Regions from separate parts of the Homo sapiens genome. Here region 2 is linked to region 1. Evidence: promoter capture Hi-C in human tissues and cell types (Jung and others, 2019). All regions are on one chromosome and are shown on one strand. The core of a region is centred on a gene start or on the middle of the fragment in contact, and the rest is flanking DNA. Distances in the headings are between cores, read along the strand shown. Region 1 holds the start of NMNAT2 (nicotinamide nucleotide adenylyltransferase 2). Region 2 overlaps NMNAT2 (nicotinamide nucleotide adenylyltransferase 2).

Region 1 (3,209 bases), core at 429-2,928:
TGAGACCATCTACTTCTCGTTGCTCCCGTCTCTATAAACCCTGGTCTCAGGACAACTCCACTTGCCTAGGCTACCAGATTTTCCTAAATGCTTTCCTTGTCTTCCCATTTGCCCTCCCTTTCCACCCAGCAGCCAGAGTGATCCTATAAAAATGTAAATTACATATTATTCCCCTGCTTAAAAGCTTCAGTGGCTTCCTTTTGTTATTATTCCACTTAGAAAAGTGTCTAACTCTTGCCCTAGTCTACAAGCCCCATTTGATCTGGCCCTGATCACCTGCTGCTCAGTCTTCTATCATTTTTCCCCTTGCCCATACTTTCTAGCATCACTGGCCTTTCATTTCTATGAATACAGTAAGCCCTTCCCTGTCCCTGAATACGTGAGCTAGCAACTACTCCTGTCGCTCAGGTCTCACTGAAATGTCACCTCCCCAGAGAGGCCTTCTCAGACTACTTGATTCGTCCTCTCTTCTCCACTCACTCTCTGCTCTGTCAGAGAGTAAATTGCATTCACTTACTGTGCATTGCACAATTGCCATCTAATATTTATTGTCTATCTTCCTCCAGTAAAATGAAGACAGTGACTTTGCTTCACCAGCAGGGTTTATAGCAATACTTGACACATAATGAGCCCTCAAGAAACACTTGTTAAATGGTAAGTCTTTGTCTCAACTTTGGTAGCTTATGGAGGATCCCCATCATTTTCTTTTTTCTTTTTTTTTGTTTCGAGATGGATTCTCGCTGTCGCCCAGGTTGGAGTGCAGTGGTGCGATCTTCGCTCACTGCAACCTCTGCCTCCCAGGTTCAAGCAATTCTCCTGCCTCAGCCTCCTGAGTAGCTGGGATTACAAGCACTCGCCACCATGCCCGGCTAGTTTTTGTATTTGCTTTTTAGTAGAGACAGGGTTTCACCGTGCTGGCCAGGCTGGTCTCGAACTCCTGACCTCGTGATCCGCCCGCCTCGGCCTCCCAAAGTGCTGAGATTACAGGCATGAGCCACCGCACCCGGCGGATCCCCATAATTTTCTAATACAGTTTTAGTAACTCTGCCCCCTTCATGTTCTCTCAAACGGATAGCATTGCTTCGCCCACGAAAAGGATCAGTATTGCAGAGGAAGGGCTTAGATCACCCCTATCTCTCTGCAGCCAGCAGATCAAGATTTGGACTCAACTCAATAGTTTGGAATCATCAGATAAAGGAAAAAGGAAAAGCAGAAATGAATACTACTGAAATAAACAATGGTCATTTCTCACTTAAAATTTTGAGGAAGAGAGAAAGAAAAAATACCTTAAGATCAAACATTTTTTAACTTGGAGATGTTAGAGAAAGTAGGGGGGACAGAAAAATGTTAGAATGAGGAGGAAAACTGAATCAAGATGAGGCAAGAGGCAGAAAGAGCTCACACCATGCTGTGGGCTCTTGGTTCTGAGCTTGGATACCACGTCTTGCCTTCTGGATAAACTCTAAGGAAGACAGTGATGGAGTGAAGTGGGCTGGGGGCGATAGAGAGGATGGGGTGGGGCACCAGGCGAGAGATGCGAAGGAAGCCAGAACGAAAAGAGAGCGACCGAGGAGAGAAGAGAGCAGAGCAATACAAAAGCAGCCTCGGATCTAGCCGGAGCTGCAAGCGTTAAGGGGAGGCGGAGAGTGACGCGGTTTGCGTCTGGAGCGGCTCCTTGGAGTCCACAGCATCCACCGCCGGAGCCTCGCCTTCCTTTCTCCCTCTGCAGACACAACGAGACACAAAAAGAGAGGCAACCCCTAGACCACCGCGAAGGACCCATCTGCACCATGACCGAGACCACCAAGACCCACGTTATCTTGCTCGCCTGCGGCAGCTTCAATCCCATCACCAAAGGGCACATTCAGATGTTTGGTGAGTCCTCCCGCCCACCTCTGGAAGCCGCTTCCGCTCCTCTCCTTTCCCAGGCACCTGTGTTTTCCAGGGCGATCGAACGGGAAGGCGTGTGCCCCTTCGGAGGGGTGGGCCGGCTCATCCAGCTGGTGGAGGTCGGCCCCTTCATTTTGGACTCAGGGGAGGGTACGCAGACTGCGTTTCCGAGGCGTCACTTGCCGGGGCCAGACCCGGCTCGCAGGGGGCCAAAGGTGGGGGATGGGAGGGGACTAGAGATGAGTATCATTTGGGGCTGGGCAGGGGTTCGAGATACCAGAACTGGAGTGTGGCGGTGCGGTGGTTCGGCTACCAGGCTGGCGAAGACCGGGATGGGGGCAGAGGTTGGGGCGCCGAGTAGGGGAGGAAGGGGCTGGAGATAACGTGCTGTTTGTTTAGGATGGGCCGAAAGCTCGAAGGAGTTAAATCATGTATGTGCCTGGGATTCGCAAACACACTCGCGCCCGACACACCGGTGACAGGGGCTGGGGCTTCAAGATTAATTTCGGATTTGGCTGGTGATTCTGGGCGGCCCAGGGACCAGTGTTTGGGAATTGTGGGCCGTGTATTGCCCGCGCGAGGTGGATGCTGAGTGAATAGGGAGGGGGCCCTTTTCCGCCTAGGTTCGGCCTCAGGGACCCGCTGCCTAGGACGGGGAGGGGGCCGGGCGGAGGCTGCGGGAGGCCCTGCGCGAGCCGGAGCCGAAGGATCGGGGCCCAAGTTGGCTGAGGCTCTGCCCAGGGTGGCGATGGCACTCGGAAGGCTTGAGGCGTCTAGTGTGTGTACGAATGTGCGAATGACTGTGTGTGAGTATATGCGTGTGCGTGTTGGGGGGAGGGGACTTATCGCGCGTTTGTTTCTTAGAAGCTTTGGGGCGTGGAGTCAGAGAGAGCGAGCGGGGGCATCCGGCTGGCTGGTTCGGGGTCCAGCAGCGGTAGGGGAAAGGTGATCGATAGATGCCTATTGGAGGTCTCGCGCCACCGGTGGGAAGCCACGCGGCTTCGCAGCTGCTCGTAGGACTCAAAGGCGTGGGGCATGAGCGTTTAGACACGGAAAGAGGGACGCGGAGGTCACTTTAGAAGCAGGAATTGAGAAGTTAGAAGTTGGGGGTGCTTTTTCTTGAAACTGAGAGAAGCGAGGAGTAGGGAAAAGCGAGTGGGCTGGGATGGATGAGAGAGCGTGTGGGAGGCCCTGACCTGGCCCGCCAGCAAGGCGCTCTCCAGAGGCGGCGGTGCTGAAATGCAGGGCGCGCCGGAGCTGGATGCGGGCACACGTGTTTATCCGGAGCCTGAGGACTGCGCGAGCCCTCCTAGGGAGGT
Region 2 (3,209 bases), core at 513-3,012, 43 kb after region 1:
TTGGTGGGGTTCCTGAAGAAAAAATCCACAAGGAGAACCTTATTTTTGATAGTTAACTGAGCAGAGTTGAACTCCTCTCAAGAAAGCTAAAGCTCTCAAACAGTTCTCAGGCCCAAGGAGATGGGCACTCTACCTCTGCATGAAGGGGTTGCTGGAGCCCCTGTAGATAGGGCCATGATATTTAATGGAAAACAGGCTTGTCTTCATTCTACCTACCACACAGTCAAATGCATCTTCAAGATCCTAAAGTTCTATATAGGGAAATGGTGAATTCCAGGTTTGAATTTTATGGGACAGCAAAATTAAAATAAAAAATAATTGGGAGGGTCAATGTTAGATTCTCAACTTTTTAGTTTCCAAACCAAAAATCACTCACCTGTCATCGCATCATGGCAATATGAAAGGAAACACCCACCCACCAAAGTACAAAGGATATACTCTTGGAATAGTGAACAGTCCTTTACTTGGAATAAATTTAGCCTTCAATAAAGTGAAGTCAATTTTTTCCACTCCTCATCATAGATCAATGGATGCTTACTTATAGACCAGCACAAGCACTCAGCCATCACTCATGAGCCATTGCTGTAGAGCCTGGCTGTTTTTTCACATAGCTCTATCTTCTATATTTTTGTTGTAAACTCCTGGAAAGGAGAATCATGTCATATTCACCTCTGTTTCTCCAATTTTACCCTCAAATGTGACCCACTTAATAGGTTCTCAACTAATGAGATTAATAATGAATATTAATTATTAATACCATTAATTTATTATATCAGTACATTAATATTAATAAAACACATAGGTTGTCCTCATAAATGTTAGCTGAACAGAACTGGATGTCAAGATATCATGACCTCTTCAGCACTCCTTAGGTGTTCCCCAGTACTTCCTAGGCCTACCTGGAAGGATGGGAATTTAATTTTTTTACCTTTCATCTTAATAGCATTAGTGAGTGACCACTTTGAGTGAGGTGTTTCTTTTCAGATGTGGTGGGAGATGAAAAAGATACTCAAGACAAGAGTTTTGCCCTTAAGTGGTTTATAATTATCTACACAGCACAGGTTGTTCTAATACCAGAGTGTGATCAATAACCTAATTATGAACACACAGTGCCAAGAGAACAGAGGAGAAAGTGTTCATGTACCCATTGACTCATAAGTACTCTGAGAGGCTTTGTTCTGGACTTAGTTGGAGGGAGGAGAATAAACATGGACTCTTCGTTCAATGGATAGTAGTCAAGAAGTAATGCCACCAAGGTATAAGAAACTAATGGAGGGATTGGAAAGAGCATGGTGGTCAAGGAATTGAGAGGGGAGCAGCTACTTCTTCCAGGAGATAGGGGAGGCTGCAGGTGGTCAGAGAATTAATGCTGACTTGGGGAAATCCAAGAAGTTTTCTTAGAGAAAGTGAGTTGAGACTTGAGTTGTCTTTGAAGCTGTGTAGAACTTGGATACATGTGTGTGGAAGAGAGGAATTGCCACAGGAAACAGCCTGGGCAAAGGCATAGGGGAGGGAAAGCGCAAGTCAGGCTCAGGAAATAGAAAGTGCTGAAGAGTAAGTGGGGAGTAGGGTGTGGAGTTGGGGGACAGTGGAGTAGAAGATGTGGCTGAAGAGGCTGGCCAGAGCCAAACTATGGCTGGCACAGAGCAGGTGCTCCATAAATATTTGTCAAATGATTGGATAAATAAAGGGAAGCACTGGCCATGGGTTGTTATTATTTGTTTATTTATTTATTTTAGTAGCTAATGGTGAAGAATTCTGAATAGGGAGGTGGTAAGATCATATTATGATGGCAGGTCTGTGGAGGACAAAGGAGAGACAAAGCCGATGGGGGTAGGGGCATGAGTTAGGAAGCTGTGGTGATTGTCCTAAGAGGCCTTCCTGCCCCCAGTCCTGAAAAACCTGATTCTCTGCTTCCCTGAAAAGCTAGGCTGGAATGCTTCCCTCTTTTGAAACATTTAGGGATCGATGAATGTCAACACTCAAGCTAAATGCAGACCATGTTTAGACACACACTAGGAATATCAACACACATCCTATTCCTAGGGAGGGGACTAAAGTCTTCCAGTTGCATTGTTCCAAGGTCAGTCTGACTACAAGGGAGCATCTGGGGAAGTGACACTCAGTGTGGCTGTCAGCCCTGAAGACTGCCTAAGCCTCTGAAACTCCTAAGCTTGATGGTTCTCATTATGGCTTCCTAGAGAGAAGATGGAAAGCCATCTGATGTTCCTCTCTTAGCACTCCTCATCTACTTGGTATTGATATTAATAAACAATGAAATCACAGGATACAGCTTAAGTAAATCTATTTTCCTTGCATGTGGTACAACACAGTTTGAAAATAAAAACAAATCAAATGCTCTGAAAGGAAAATGAATGTAAATTAAGATCTGGAGAAATTTGTCAGCATCTGAGCATTTATTTTGCTTTCATCTCCCCTTTAAATCAAACTAAACCATTTTCTGAAGCTCAGATGTGAATCACAGCCCCTTCTGGAATGAATGATTATGACTCCGGCCTAGTTTAAGCAGATGATCCCCCATAAGTGGGGAGAGAAAGGCTCTTCTTGACGGGGTAGAAGGCTCTGAGGCCAGCGGCCTCTTGAGGACAGATGGCCTGGTCTGGAATTGCACAGGTGAGGTGCCCAGAGCCAGGGGGGTGCAAGCAGATTCCTGAAGTCTATCTTCCCTTTGGAGGAAACATCACTTTTTTGCTTTTTATCTGTTGGTAATTCTTCTTGTCAAAATAAATGGTGCCACGGTATACTGGTTGAGTGTAGACTTAGGGAGAGAGGGAATTGGTTCAGACCCTCAACCCTACATGGATGACCTTGGAGCAGTTACTTACATTCTCTGAACTTCAGATTCCTTACCTAAAATTTGAGGACAACAACACCTGAGTTATTGTATCCAACACCTGAGTTATTGCATAAGAGTTACATGAAATAATATACAAAATGTATTTAGCAAAGTGACACATAATGATTGCTCAATACAAGGTAGCACTTCTTAATTACTAATAAAGAATAAAGTTCAACTGGCCAGGCGCAGTGGCTCATGCCTGTAATCCCAGCACTTTGGGAGGCTGAGGCGGGCAGATCACTTGAGGTCACAAGTTTGAGACCAGCTTGGCCAACATGGTAAAACCTCATCTCTACTAAAAATACAAAAATTAGCCGGGCATGGTTGCGTGTGCCTGTAGTCCCAGCTA

What was found. The method cuts DNA at HindIII sites, captures the fragments that hold promoters and counts their contacts. A contact is called where the count stands out against the background at its distance.
Region 2: a contact is called between a fragment that was not itself captured here and the fragment with the promoter of NMNAT2 in region 1, in 1 of the 25 tissues and cell types used here (heart right ventricle).

The regions. Positions count from the first base shown.
Region 1 is chr1:183,416,849-183,420,057 of GRCh38, reverse strand. It overlaps NMNAT2 (nicotinamide nucleotide adenylyltransferase 2), which reads left to right and starts at 1,678. Exons shown (of 11, transcript NM_015039.4): 1 at 1,678-1,875. The coding sequence starts at 1,791. The HindIII fragment of the contact is 5,834 bases long and covers 1-3,209 here.
Region 2 is chr1:183,373,746-183,376,954 of GRCh38, reverse strand. All of the region lies in intron 1 of NMNAT2 (nicotinamide nucleotide adenylyltransferase 2), which reads left to right. Among named protein-coding and RNA genes, the nearest start is that of NMNAT2, 43 kb to the left of the region's middle. The HindIII fragment of the contact is 5,992 bases long and covers 1-3,209 here.